3 separate regions of the Homo sapiens genome follow, and regions 2 and 3 are each linked to region 1. The links are contacts of gene promoters, found by promoter capture Hi-C in human tissues and cell types (Jung and others, 2019). All regions are on one chromosome and are shown on one strand. Each heading gives the region's core, a stretch centred on a gene start or on the middle of the fragment in contact. The rest is flanking DNA. Distances are from core to core; before and after follow the strand shown.

Region 1 (4,918 bases), core at 1,346-3,845:
CACAAAAACAAACTCAGCCCACCTCCTATTCTCAGCACTGCCTGAGGTGACAGAGGCCCTGGCTCCACTGACATCCCGGGCAAGACACAGGCAGGATCTAGCGGTTTCCTGGGGGAAGGGCTGGCAGTCCAGTTTCACTGAAGGCAGGGCTTGATGGAATTGGGGGAAGGAAGCAAGGGAGAGCAAACATGACGGTCAGACCTGTCGTGTGGTAGATCTGCCCTGCCGAAATGCGGATGTTTTTCTGTTGGATGCGGGAAACCCGAGGTTGGAACTGAATGCAGGCTGAGGCTAGGGTGAGGCAGGTAGAGATGGGGAGCCGGGGCAAGAGGTGGGATGGAGCAAGAGGGGTTGGATGGGGGGATGGGAAGATGGGATGACATGGGGAGATGGAGAAGATGGCAACAGAAAGGAGGAGGGACAGTGGATGGGGCTGGTGCCAGGCTGGGTGAGACTGCAAAGGTGAGGCAGGCTGGCCAGGTGGCCCCTCACCGCTCTTCCGGTACAGGATCAGCTCAGCCTTGAACTCCTTGTGCTCGTCCAGGGCCTTGCGGATCTGTTGGCGGACGAGCTCACTGGTGTCTGGCCCATAAAGGAAGGAGCAGGCACAGCCCCGCTGCATGACCTCAGCCCGGGAGAAGCCCGTGAGGTCACAGAAGCCATCAGAGCAGTAGACCACGGGGAAGAGCCCCGCCACCTGGGCGTTGCCCAGCACGAAGTTACTGTCTGCAAGAGAGCACTTCTCAGAGGAGGCGTGGGGTGAAGGGGCAGGAGGCCTACCACCCCTCCTTTCTCAAATGCCTGCAACCAAAGAGTGGGTTTTCCAAACCCCAGGAATCCTGCGTGTGTTAAGGCAGGGCTGTTTATGAATAGCAATCAGTGTGTGTCACCTGTTTGTCAGTGCCCTGCAGCAGGTGTGAGTACATTCAAGGATCAGCACATGTGAACTGAGGTCGGTGAATGAAGCGCTGTGCGGGCACTGTGCCTTCTGGAGGGTGTCCTGAGCAATGTGGGGTAAGGGCTGGGATTGGGGAATCCCTAATGAGGACTGCCCTGCCAGCTCTGGGCCAGCCTCAGCCCCACCTCTACTTCTGCCAGGCTCACCCACTAGCCAGGTACCCAGGTTGGCTGTCTGGCTTCTCCCACTGAGACACACCTAGACTGGAGGCAACCCCAGACCACCATACATCCTGCTGTCTGTGTTTTAGCCCTAGCTGCCTGACCTGGCTCAGGAATTAGTGAATGTGATCAAGAATGGGGGTGTAAGAATGGTGACTGAGCACGGGAGCCAGGAGCCAGGAATGTATTGGGGAGTGGGGGGCACTGAATCAGCAGGCTGCAGGAGCCAAGCACACTGGCAAAGCAGATGGAGGAGCCCGGAGTGGGGAGAGCGCAGGGCTGGGCTCCCACCCCCTATCAGGAACCGGAGACCAAGGAGGACCTAGGCAGAGAGCTGGGAAGCCCCACGGGGGATGTGAGGGAGAGGAGGAGGGAGGGGCTTTCATCACTTCCCCTGTGCTCAGAGCCCCCAGAACCGGGGATCCAGAGCTCGGGGCGCCTTCTCCAAACTTCCCCAGTCCTGATGGGAGTCCCCAAACCATCTTCTTGGGGCTAGATGGCCTCCCCAAGTCTAGGGGGTTCAGGCTATGAGACACGGGGCTTGGACACACGGTGCTCTCCCGAGTGCCGCCTACTCTTATCTCCGTTTGCAAATCTCTTTTCTAAATCTGTGTTTTGAGCCCTCTCAGCTGTCCCTGAGCACTGTTCACCCGCCTCGCCTTACCCCACCAGTCCGAGGGTAGTTGCTGCGACAGCGCCAGACGCAGGGGTGGGATGGGTCAGACTGACTAGGTTCGGGTTCGAGACCCGGCTAACAGAGAGCATCCCAGGACCCACACCCAGGGACTTCTGGCCCTGTTGCCTCGCCTGAAGCAGTGTTGACCCCGAACCTTCGAACCTTCGGGGAAACAGCGCCTAGCAGGAGACGATGGCCCCAGCCTCAAGAGGGGCGGGTAGGGAGGAGAGGGTGAGAATAGGCTGGCGCCAAGCTGGGCTGCTGGGGGTTCGGGGAAGGCGGGAGCCCTGGCGAGGGTCCGGCGGCCCGGGTGCAAGTGGGCGAGGGTCGGACTCACGCGTGCCGTCGAAGCGCGTAGCGATGGTGTCCAGGAAGGTGTTCTGCGGCGCCAGGAGGCCCCGCATGGCCGGCATCTTAGGCGCCCGCGGCTGCCCGCCCCATCCCTCCGGGGTGCGGGGACTCCGCGCCGGGGGAGGGCGCCCAGCTCGGCCGCCCCCCGCCGGGCCCCGCGCTCCCTAGCGCAGCCGTCGGGGGGCAATGCGCAGACCGGGATCCGGGGTCGCGCCGGACGCTGGCGCGCGAGGGGGCGTCCGCGCCGTCGGGGCCCGGAGCATGGCGCGCGGCCCCTCGCGCCCTCGCCGCCCACAAATCCCGGGCTCCAGGCCCCGCGGCCGCCGCGCTCTCAGCACCTCCCGCCGCGGCAGCGGCTCGCGTGTCGGCTGCGGGTGGGCTTCCGCTCGGCTTCGCTCGGCGCCGGCTCTCGGCAGCTCCCTCCGTCTGTCGGGGAGAAGCTGCAGCCTCCCTCCCTCCCTCCCGCGCCCGCCGCCTGCACCGGGGTAACCATGGAGACGGGGCACACCCAGCCAGGGCCGCCTCCTTAAAGGGACAGGCCTCCCGCGGAGGGCTCCCCTCCCTTCGGGACCTCGGCGGGGGCGGGGAGGTGGCGGCCGCCCTGATCCCACCCCGCGGGCCTCCCCGCCCGTACCTCGGAGAACCACTGGCGAGCGGCCGGCCCCCTTTGGCTCACTCGGCCTCAGCCGCAGAGGGGAGGCGTCTTTCTCTGCAGCCCGGGGGCTCTCCGAGAGCCTCCTAGCAGCCTCTCCTCCCCCGGCGGAATGGGAGGGGGGCTCGGGGCGTGGGGGGCAGGGGACGCATGCTGTGGAAGATGCTCTCCCCGAGGAAAATGCAGTGGGCAAGGGGACAGGGCGACAGGCGCAGGTGAAGGCCCTGCGGCCAGCGGAGGCCGGCGCTCTAGAGGGGCTCCAGCCGCACCCGGGAAATCTAAAAGCAGATGGGGCGGGGGTTCTGCGCGCACAGCTGCCCGGCCCTCGAGACTTTCTCATCCTCAACTTGACGCTCTGGAAAATGGATCCAGCTGCTCCTATGAGGTGTCTCCGCAAGCAGGAGCTGCCTGGAAACCAGAGGGTGGGTAGCCCTAGGAGTAAGGGTCAGACGTCCTCCGTGTGACCCCGTGGGCGGAAAGGGTGTGTGGTGGGGAGGGGAGCGCCAGACCCCTTGTCCTGCCCCTCCATTTCCCTCTGGCATTTGTCACCTCTTGCCTCTCCTAAGCGCGCTAGAGGGTCAGGTGGTAAATACAGGGGACCGGCAGGGGTCAGACACTGCGAAAAAACTTCCGAACCTTGTGCGTGCGGGTCCTGGCACCAGGAGAGCGAGGAAGGCCGAGCCCCGCGCCTCACGCAGCTCGTCCTGGAGAGCTCCGCGCGGCGCCGCGCGGGGTGCTGCCCTGGGGCGGCTGCAGGGAGCCCCTTCCCGGCGGGGCGGAGCCGGGCCCGGGGCGGCCGTCTTTTCTTGGCCTCCCGCGCTGCGACGGTCCCCCGGACTTGCCTGCCAGCGCCGCTCCTCCTCCCTCCCACGATTTGCCAGCGAGCGCGGCTGCCGCCCGCGCCCAGAGGAGCCGCCGGGGCCAAAACAGCAATTTGTTCCCTAACGAGCGAAGCGGTAGGCTCAGCACCCCCATCCCTCGAGACGCACTCACAGTCACCAGCATCAGAAAGATGCTACCCCTCATCAGCGACGAGAGCCAAAGCCCCAGGCACCTGTATCTAAATGAGCTGGCGCTTTGGGAAGGGAGGACGCGCTCCTCCTTCTCCGGTCCTGTGAAGCCTGGAATCTGGTCCCCAGGACGAGGAGTGACCCTGAGGAGTGACCCTAAGGAGTCGGGAGATCCTACTCCCATCTCATCCCCAGCCTTGGCTGGATCCTGGCTGTAAAGTAATCCCCTCCCCCAGCCGTTCAAGGCTTCCTCTCCAGGCGGCGGTCCAGCTGTCTACTAAAAAGAAGGACATTTTAGGAGTCAGTTCACTTTGAGACAGGATAAGGCCACAATTGAAATCACCCACCCACTTGGGAACCAGGTCTGCCACTTGCTGTCCCTGTGATTAAATTTTTTTTTTAATTTTGGTCTGTGTGAATTTTTTTTTTTTTTTTTTTTTTTTTGTGACGGAGTCTCCCTCTGTCGCCCAGGCTGGAGTGCATTGGAGCTATCTCTGCTCACTGCAACCTATGCCGACCAAGTTCAAGCAATTATCCTGCCTCAGCCTCCCAAGTAGTTGGGACCACAGGCATGCGCCACCACGCCCCGCTAATGTTTGTATTTTTAGTAGAGATTGGGTTTCACCATGTTGGCCAGGCTCATCTCGAACTCTTGACTTCAGGTGATCTGCCCGCCTCAGCCTCTCAAAGTGCTGGGATTACAGGCGAGAGCCACCACACCTGGCCTGTCTGTGTGATTTTTAAAGGCAAGTTATTAACCCTTCTCTGACTCAGTTCTCTCATCTGTAAAATGCGGATGCTAATAATAACATCAGAGGGTCGTAATGAGGATTCAATGAGTGAGTATGTGTAGAGGATCTAGAACAGTGTGTGACACCTGCAACATGTAAATGTTTGTTGTCTGATTTTGAGTCTCCTAGGAGCCCTGTGAAACAGCCAGGGTGGGGGCTCCTTATGCTCCATTTCACAAAGGAGGAACCAGAGCTGAGAGAGAGGGAGAGAGGAAGAAGAAGAAAGAAGAAAGAAGAAGAAGGAGGAGAAGGAGAAGAAGGAGAAGAGAGAAAGGAGGAAGGAGAAAGGAGGAAGGAAGAAGAAGGAAGAAGTTAAGAA
Region 2 (4,918 bases), core at 797-3,296, 58 kb after region 1:
GCCCCAGCTAATTGGGAGGGTGAGGCGGGAAGACAGCTGGAGTCTGGCAGGTTGAGGCTGCAATGAGTCGTGAATGCACCACTGCATTCCAGCTGGGTGACAGAGAGAGATCCTGTCTCAAAAAACAAACAAAAAACAAAGGGTAGTTCTGCAAACACTCAATTATTGGCCAAAATAAATTAGTATAATTAGGGTTTATCTGGAATACTGTTAGGATAATGATTAAAAATATATAAAGCAGCTATTTCAGTCAAGATCCCAAAGAGGAAGCGAATGGCATACTCAAATTGGGCAATCTTAATAGAGTTTAATAATAGGAGTATTTTCAAAGGTGTTAGCAAAGAGTAGGGAAACCACCCAAGATAGGGCTGTACCTCTTGTTACTGTTTTTGCTGGCTTTTAAGCAATGTGCACTGCTACTTGAGACTTGAGTGTGAGGAGGAAGCAGTTACAGGAGCCAAAGACAGAAAGGGCCCTTTTATTTTTGTTTCATCTGGTATAGAAAGCGCCATCAGACAGTTGCTGTGACCTTTGGCCAAAGGACACACTCAGCCCACAGCTACCCCTCAGAGAAAGATTAGAGGAATAAAAGTCCCCTACCTTACTCTCCTCCCTTCCTCGGAATCTCCTGCCAATGCTGCCCAGTGGCCAAACTTAAGTAAGCCAGAGGGCATGGGAGGCACTGAGATGGTCTACATAGGTCAGGAGGGCACAAATGACAATTTTGCATTTATATTCTATGACATGAGGTCACCAAAAAGATAAAGCAATAATCTAACATCTTAATTTGTCTACTCACTAGCTGATACTGCCTTTTTAAACTTAAACCAACACCTCAAGTAGATTCAAAACCTTACTTTAATCAACTGGCACCTAAATGTCTCTTAGTATTATACAGAAAGTAATTTTTAATTCCCATCAATACTTAGTGATTTTTAAACTTATTTTTTCATGAAAAGAAAGCTTAAGATTTACCTAATTCTATTGGTAAGAAATAAGGCAGGATTTCATCTTTTTATTAATATTTAGCTGTGATAAGAGAGCATGTATTCTATCAGAAACACATTTTTAAGGAAAAAGTGCTGCTAAATATTCTCTAATCCTGGGTGTTCAGGTAAAAAAAAAATTCTCAGGCAAGATTCATAAAGAATATGAGGATGCCTAGGCCAGATGCAGTGGCTCACACCTGTAATCCCAGCACTTTGGGAGGCTGAGGCGGGCGGATCACTTGAGGTAAGGAGTTCGAGATCAGCAAACATGGTGAAACCCCGTCTCTACTAAAAATACAAAAATTAGCCAGGCATGGTGGCAGGCACCTGTAATTCCAGCTACTGGGGAGGCTGAAGCAGGAGAATTGCTTGAACCCGGGAGGCAGAGGTTGCAGTGAGCTGAGAATGAGCCACTGCACTCCAGCCTGGGCGACAGAGCAAGACTCCATCTCCAAAAAAAAAAAAAAAAAAAAAAAAAATGAGGAAGCCTTGAGCTTGTTGAGCTTTCTTATTTATTTCACTCTATCAGGAACCATTTCAGAAGTTTTTTTGGAATTATTTCTTTCTTTTTTTTCTGGAGACGGAGTCTCGCTCTGTTGCCCAGGCGGGGAGTACAGTGCTGTGATCTTGGCTCACTACAACCTCCGCTTCCCGGGTTCAAGCCATTCTTCTGCCTCAGCATTCCCAGTAGCTGGGATTACAGGCACGCGCTACCACGCCTGGCTAATTTTTGTATTTTTAGTAGAGACAGGGTTTCACCATGTTGGTCAGGCTGGTTGGAATTATTTCAAATAGCACACATTCAGGTATATTTGAGAAAAAGTATGTTATTTACAGTACAAATGACATATTTGTAAATACTACAGGTTTTGTTATTATTGTTTTTGCTGGCTTCAAAAATTAGGTAAAAGTTGTTTTTAGGCACTGAGAATGACATAGAAATAGCTGAGCCTGATTATTCCATGTATTAAATCAACCTTGAACAGGTGTCTTGACAAGCTTTAAAACACAGTCTCATTCTGCTGTTAATTTATAATTTAACCTGAAGATCATACTGTACTAAGTGTTTTAGAATTAATTTTGTTTAAAGTTCTGATTATATTTATACCCAGGGTGCATATTTATTTATTAAAAAAAAAAAACAGAAAACAACAAGTGTGGCAAGAATGTGGAAAAACTGGAATTCTGGGGCACTGCTAGTGGAAATGTAAAATGGTACAGCCCCAATAAAAACCACATGTTGGTTCCTTAAAAGATAAAACATAGAACTACCACATGATGCAGCAATTCTGCTTCTTGGTATACACACAAAAGAAATGTCACCAAGGTCTCTAAGAGGTGTTTTGTACATCCATGTACTGCTGTAGGCGTTGAGATACACTAGGATACAACGGTGAACAAGAAACGTTTCCTGCCCTCTTAGAGTTTTACTGTCTAGTGCAAGAGACTGATTAAAAAAAAAGAATAATCATCTCAATATAACAACAATGCATTAATTTATCTAACTGTACAATACTAAATACATATGCTAGACCTCCACAATAACATTATTATGGAGTGAAAATTATTAAAAGCTCTACCACCTTGGGTGCTATCTAAAGAGGTATGGCAGAGCTAATATGAACACACAGTAAGGCTCTTAGAGGTACTGAAGTGAATTTGATACAATTATCCATGAGCAGATTATCTCCATCATGGAAAAGCCTATGCCCAAATTCTAGGCTGCTCACCATAGAGACAAGTGTAGAGGGGGTGGAACCCAGGTATGGAGTAAGTCTAAGGATTCTCATGGGGGTTACTGAATTTGTATCTGAATTCAACAACCAAAAACTTAACAGTTTTGGATTGCTTGTATCTTTCTTTTGTTAACATAATGGCAAATTATTCCCTCTGACAAGCAAGGAGAAAAATGGAATTATAATCCCTCCCAGAATATCCTCTCTTAATCTCATAGTGATGAGAAAATCAGTCACGGTACTACTCCTTGCCCAAAGTCACACAGTAAATCCTACTGTAGAATCAAAAAGGCAGTCCAGGTTTTATGCTTTACATTAGTGCTGTGTAACTCACCAAATATACTAGTTCTCAAGTTGCCATTATTTTAACAGTACCTTGATATATAGCCTTTCTTCTAAGGATCTCAGATTCTTGCTATAATCTACTGATATTCCTTACACATACATAAAGTAAGTTGAGTACTAACATTATTCACATCATACTGGCTGCAGCAGGGAGGCACCACCAGGCCAGCAGGGATACACACTCAGTGGAGCCTGAAAGTGGGTGGCAGGGGGAGCAGGAGCCCTACCCCTTCTGAGTTGGGGCAGGAACTCCCCAGGTGCCACTGCCAAAACTGTGGCTGTAGACTCAGGCCTCCCGCTCCATGAAGCAGGCAGGAGCCCCCCATCTCCCAGCTGTAGCTGTCCAAACCATAGCTGCACACTCAGGCATCCGTGTACTCTTGAGGCCACAGGAAGGCCTCCCTGCCCTCACAGGCTAGGAAGTGCCTGCTCCTGCTTGTCTGGCTTCTCCCTGTTGTCGGCACCTGCTCCAGTCTCAGCAAAGTTGGCTGAGCCAGGGTGCTATGAATGGCAGCAGGAGGCAGGCAGATTCTTGGGCAGAAGGGGGTGGGTCCCTGGTTAGGCCCCACTGTCAGGCCAGGGAGGACCTTCTGAAGGCTGGGGGCCAGGCTGCTAGTCCAGCATACTCGGGTAGTGACTTGTGGTGCCTTTTCCAGGCCCGCCCATGGCCACCCACGGACCAACTGGCACGCACTTTCTCCCCTCTAAGGTCGACAAAAGCCCCAGGCTCAGCCAGAGCTGGGCAGGGGATGGAGAGAGGACAGGGACAACCTGCTGCAGAGAGGAGCCACCTTCTCTGCTGAGAGCTGCAGAGACAATGGGACGACCTGCTGGCAAACCATCCTCTACAGGGCCTCCTCTCTGCTGAGAGCTGAATACTCTGTAGGAGACGACCTGCCTACAGAGAGGAGGTACCCACTGCGGGTCTCCGCTGAGCTGTTGTAACACTCAATAAAGCTCCTCTTTCATCTTGTTCACCTTCCACTTCTTTGTATATGTCATTCTTCCTGGATGCAGGACAAGAACTCAGGCAAAGGCATCACTGGCCACAGAGGTTTCTGGCCAGAAAAGTGACACTCCAAAGATCCGTAACAATTTCACCATGGCCAAAGAAAGACCAGAAGAGGTAAGATCCAGTTAAATATAGGTAAAGCCCAGAAGTCTAGATAACCTGACAAGTATGATTATTACTTAACATATTTTCTCTAATGGTATCAACTTTCTCCTAAAAAGTAAACTCAAGAGCAGAGCCTATGTAAGTGCCAATTCTTACAGAAATGGTATCTCATGAACAATTAAACAACCTGAAGTTCTCCTTCAGACTGAACACAGCCAATATTGGACCATAAAAGAAAGTGACCAATTGCTTGGAATTGCTTTGTCTCATGCCAACTTTGAGAATAATCCACATGTAAGTCACCAATAAAATTACAAGTGGAGTTCAGTTTCTTCATGTGCACTAATGGCAAATGTGGGGACTGGGGTTATATTGTACAAATATAAGTGCAAAGAAAAGGAAGTTATTGTCACAAGAATTAGTACTTAAGGCCTATTCAGAACTTCACAACTAAAGATTCTGGCTGGCTGCAGTGGCTCACACCTGTAATCCCAGCACTTTGGGAGGCCAAGATAGGAGTATCGCCTGAGGCCAGGAGCTTGAGACCTGCCTGGGCAACACAGCTAGTCCCCATTTCTATAAAAAATTTAAAAAGTAGCTGGGCATGCTGGCATGCATGCATCTGTAGTCCTAACTAGTTGGGAGGCTGAGGCAAGAGGATTGCTTGAGCCCAGGAGTCTGAGGTTGCAGGGAGCTATGAGCATGCCACTACACTCCAGCCTGGGCAACAG
Region 3 (4,918 bases), core at 1,792-4,291, 36 kb after region 1:
TCCTCCTTTGCCTTCAGCTATGATTGTGAGGCCTTCCCAGCCACGTAGAAGTGTGAGTCAATTAAACTCTTTCCTTGATAAATTACCCAGTCTTGAGTATGTCTTTATTAGCAGTGTGAGAACAGACGAATACAGCCTCCCGAAGTGCTGGGATTACAGGCATGTGCAAATTGAAAATATCTTAAGTTGATAATGCATTTAATATACCTAACCTATTGAACATCAAAGCTTAGCCTAGCCTACCTTAAACATGCTCAGAACATTTATATTAGCCTGCAGTTGGGCAAAGTCATCTAACACAACACCTATTTTATAATGAAGTGTTGAATATCTGATGTAATTTATTAAACACTACACTAAAAGTGAAAAACAAAATGGTTGTATGGGTATACAAAGTATGCTTTCTACTGAATGTGTATCACTTTCATACCATCATAAAGTTGGAAAATTATTAAGTTGAACCATCATAAGTAGGGAACTGTCTGTAATATGACATGTACCAACAGTCTCTAGCCTTGCCAAGCTTTAGTGGGGAAGTGAGCCATCAATGAGGTATGAGATGAAAATCATAGGTTAATAAGTCTGAATATATACATTCAAATATTGGATCTGCAACTTAGGCAAATTGCTTAACCTAAGACATACATTTATTTTCAGTAAAACAGAATTAACAATACCTACTTTGTGGAAAAGAAATCAGGATTAAAAAAATCCAATAATATAACTGAACATGTTCAGTAAAATATTCTTCATATGTTATTACTGGTTGAGCATTCCTAATCCAAAATGCTTCAAAAGCTGTACTTTTTTGAGCACTGACATGACACTGAAAGAAAATACTCATTGGAGCAGTTTGGATTTTGAATTTTTAGATTAGGGATGCTCAACTAGTTTCTGCAGACATTCCAAAATCTGAAAAAAATAAAAATAAAAAACCTAAAACATTTCTAGTCCTAAGCATTTCAGATAAGGGATACTCAACCTGTAATTATTTTCACAGATGGTTAGAGTTAAATTTTAAATAAAAAAATATCAAGAACCATGGTGTCAAGTACTAGTAGAAACAAGATATCAACAAACTAAGCTTCAAAAACCAAAGAATGATTTAGAACTACAGTGCTATGTACATTTTTGATAATACATATTACATTAGCACATTCCTTTATTTCTACACATTTTAGATATTTTTGGAGATAATATTTTGCAGGTAGTTTGGTTCATAAAATGATTCCTAAGTTTTCAGCATCTATATGTGGCCTTTAAATGTAAGGACTTAAAAGCCTTCGGTAAGACTAAGCTTGATTTAACGTTAAAAAAAAAAGCTCTGAGCTGGGCGAGGTGGCTCACACCTGTAATCCCAGCACTCTGGGAGGCTGAAGCAGGAGGACCGCTTGAGCCCAGGAGTTCAAAACCAGCCTGGGCAATGTGGCAAAACCCCATCTCTACAAAAGATAGAAAAATTAGCTGGGCATGGTTGCACCCGCCTTGTAGTCCCAGCTACTCAAGAGGCTGAGGTGGGAGGATCCCTTGAGCCTGGGAGGCTGTAGTGAGACACGATGGCGCTACTACACTCCAGTATGGTCAACAGAGACCCTGTCTTAAAAAAAAAAAAAAAAAAAAGAAAGAAAGAAAGAAAAGAAACAGGAAAAAAAAAAACGCGCCAATAAAAGGACATAGAGGAATCAGGAAAAATTTCAAAACCTTAACCATAAACTTACATGACTTTCTGTGATATATAATCTCAAATTTCTTGATAATCTTTTTCTCTTACCCATTTCTCCTTTTAAAAAATACCTTTTGACTTTCATAAAATGGAAACTTTTTATTTAAAAGAGAAGCTGAGTGTGTATCCTGTTGGCATTTTTCATCAACACATTATAGGACAATCTTCCAAAGGAGTTTATATATTCTAGCTTCATGTTCCACTCCATATCCTGCCTCCTTAATATCCTTAAACTTAAGTCAACTAACAGCTCCAACAATGAAAGGCAGACAAATATTACTAATTAACAAGAAAAGTAAACTTGGGTCTAGAGATGATTATTGCTAAGTCACCAATAAGAAGAAATTTTAAGTTTTATACATTAGAATGCTTCTGAGTTTACCTTTCTATAGGTGTGTCAGTTTTTGTTCGGCATCAAAGTGAAAGGAGTTATCTGTATAATTTCCCTAGTGCCTTGTCAGGGGTAATGTACTTTTACTGGGGCAAATCTGTTAGAACTCTTTGCCTTTTTTTTATGCTATAACCAACACAGAAATGTCTTTCTAAGTGACATTAACTCCAAGCTCTGGTTTGGTGCCAAATGGAGTTAGCTCACTTGCCAATTATGTCTTGAAGTAGCGGCTACAAGGAACATTGAAATAAGGTGGTTTATAAACTCAATCAACCAGAGCAAAGGGCTTTATACTAGCAGGAAAGGGCAGGTAATCTCTTTCCTCAAGTTAAATTGACCTGGTTGTTACGTCAGCTAATCAATCCTAAATACACAGTTCCCAGGTAGGAAACCATTTCATTTGTCATTTATTGAAGGAGGCTCCTCCTGGCTGGGTTCCAGTCAGCAGGAATTCACAAATCTCTCTCCCGGAACTGCGTTTCCTGCTGGTTCAAGCTTGTTCCGAATGGAATCAGATCCTGTGACTAAGTAATCAGTAAGCTGAACAATCATGGAGACCAGAGGCTTATCAAAGCAAAGTTGTGATGACCTACTACACTTAGCTCTTTCTTTTTTCTTTTTTTTTTTTGAGATGGAGTCTTGCTCTGTCGCCCAGGATGGAGTGCAGTGGCGCGATCTTGGCTCACTGCAAGCTCCTCCTCCCGGGATCACGCCATTCTCCTGCCTCAGCCTCCTGAGTAGCTGGGACTACAGGCGCCCGCCACCACGCCCGGCTAACTTTTTGTATTTTTAGTAGAGACGGGGTTTCACCTTGTTAGCCAGGATGGTCTCCATCTCCTGACCTCGTGATCCACCCGCCTCGGCCTCCCAAAGCGCTGGGATTACAGGCATGAGCCACCGCGCCCAGCTCTTTTTTCTTTGTTTTTTGAGATGGAGTCTCGCCCTATCGCCCAGGCTGGAGTGCAATGGCGCGATCTCAGCTCACTGCAACCTCCACCTCCTGGGTTCAAGCAATTCTCCTGCTTCAGCCTCCCTAGTAGCTGGGATTACAGGTGCACGCCACCACGCCCGGCTAATTTTTGAATGTTTAGTAGAGATGGGGTTTCACCATGTTGGCCAAGCTGGTCTTGAACTCTTGACCTTGTGATCTGCCCGCCTTGGCCTCCCAAAGTGCTGGGATTCAGGCATGAGCCACTGTGCCCAGCCAGCTCTTTATTTTCTAAACAAGCCAACAATATCTTATATGACAAGAATGCAGTGCAAAGGGCATGGTGCTTCCTCCTAGAGGTTCAGAAAGGGGAAAAATCAGTTACCTAAAATAATTTCCAGAAGTTAGACCTTAATTTAAGGAAAGTTTGGAGAAATGGTGGGATTTAGATAAATACAGAGGAATAGGAGAACATTTTCAGGCTGGGAAAGTGGCATTAACTAGTAGATGGAAGAGGAAATGTGAATGTTAAGTTTTGAGACAATGAGTAATCTGGCAGGAGCAAAAATATGTGTCAAGAAAAACAGAAGACAGCCAGGCGCAGTGGCTTATGGCTGTAATCCCAGCACTTTGGGAGGCCTAGATGAGAGGATTGCTTGGGCCCAGGAATTGGAGACCAGCCTGGGCAATATGGTGAAACCTCATCTCTACAAAAAATTAAAAAATTAGCCAGGTGTGGTGGCACATGCTTGTAGTCCCAGCTAGGGGACTAGGGAGGCTGAGGGTGGGAGGATGGCTTGAGCCCAGGAGGTGGAGGTTGCAGTGAGCCATGACCGTGCCACCGCACTCCAGCCTGGGTGACAGAGCCAGACCCTGTCTCAAACAAACAAAGAAAAACAGAAGACATGACATTAAATTCCTAGCCATAAAACCTGAAAAGTAAAACTTAGAGTTCAGGACAAGGCATGGGTAGACTAAGATGAATTATCTAGCCCCAAAGTAAGTTTTGGTTCTGATGATTTAACTTTTTGGAGGCATTATTTCATTTTGATTAACTACTCCTCTGCAATTCCAGAGACCAGGAGGACTGAGGGGACCTACACTCTCCTCTATCTCTTATATGTTGTGGCAAAAGTGACTAGACTAAATTTGTGAACAGAGACACAGTTAGGTATAACCTGAGGGAACAGTCTACAGGCAGCAAGAAAGCATGTATGGTTTGTTCTTTTCATGAACACTTCCTGTCATATTTCAGATCTAGACAGTTACTAAAAATAAGTATAATGAACAAGTTCTAAGTCTCAAAACATCACCCTAGCTGCTTGTCTTCCTGTCATTTTAATATGGTCCTTAAGTCTTTTCTAGTTTCAAAAAATCCCTTATAAAATACCTCCCACAAAGGAGCTAGAATTTAAACATCTGTTAACACCAGCTGGGCACGGTGGCTCACTCCTGTAATCCCAGCACTTTGGGAGGCAGAGATGGGCAGATCACCTGAGGTCAGGAGTTCGAGACCGGCCTGGCCAACATGGTGAAACCCCATCTCTACTAAAAACACACAAAAAATTAGCCAGGCATGGTGGCACATGTCTGTAGTCCCAGCTACTCCGGGAGGCTGAGGCAGGAGAATGGCTGCAACCTGGGAGGCGGAGGTTGCAGTGAGCCAAGATTGGGCCACTCCACTCCAGCCTAGGCGACAGAGACTCCGTCTCAAAAAACAAACAAAACAAAACAAAAAAACAAATATCCGTTAACACCTTAATATCTAACAGTTAAAACAGCTTCAGTGTTCCAGGAAACATTAGAATATTGCTATGGTTTGAATGTGATCCCCAAAGCTCGTGTGTTGGAAACTTAATCCTCAGTGCTACAGTGG

Evidence for each region. The method cuts DNA at HindIII sites, captures the fragments that hold promoters and counts their contacts. A contact is called where the count stands out against the background at its distance.
Region 2: a contact is called between a fragment that was not itself captured here and the fragment with the promoter of KCNH3 in region 1, in 2 of the 25 tissues and cell types used here (liver and lymphoblastoid cells).
Region 3: a fragment that was not itself captured here is called in contact with the fragment with the promoter of KCNH3 in region 1 in 1 of the 25 tissues and cell types used here (mesenchymal stem cells).

The regions. Positions count from the first base shown.
Region 1 is chr12:49,536,707-49,541,624 of GRCh38, reverse strand. It overlaps KCNH3 (potassium voltage-gated channel subfamily H member 3), which reads right to left and starts at 2,595. Exons shown (of 15, transcript NM_012284.3): 1 at 2,133-2,595; 2 at 493-726. The coding sequence starts at 2,208. RefSeq lists enhancers at 972-1,021, 1,666-2,475, 2,476-3,287 and silencers at 2,605-2,784, 3,515-3,634. The HindIII fragment of the contact is 20,416 bases long and covers 1-4,918 here.
Region 2 is chr12:49,478,009-49,482,926 of GRCh38, reverse strand. The region is part of intron 3 of SPATS2 (spermatogenesis associated serine rich 2); the gene reads right to left. Among named protein-coding and RNA genes, the nearest start is that of KCNH3, 59 kb to the left of the region's middle. RefSeq lists an enhancer at 3,028-3,615. The HindIII fragment of the contact is 3,681 bases long and covers 206-3,886 here.
Region 3 is chr12:49,501,473-49,506,390 of GRCh38, reverse strand. The region is part of intron 9 of SPATS2 (spermatogenesis associated serine rich 2); the gene reads right to left. Among named protein-coding and RNA genes, the nearest start is that of KCNH3, 35 kb to the left of the region's middle. The HindIII fragment of the contact is 3,700 bases long and covers 1,192-4,891 here.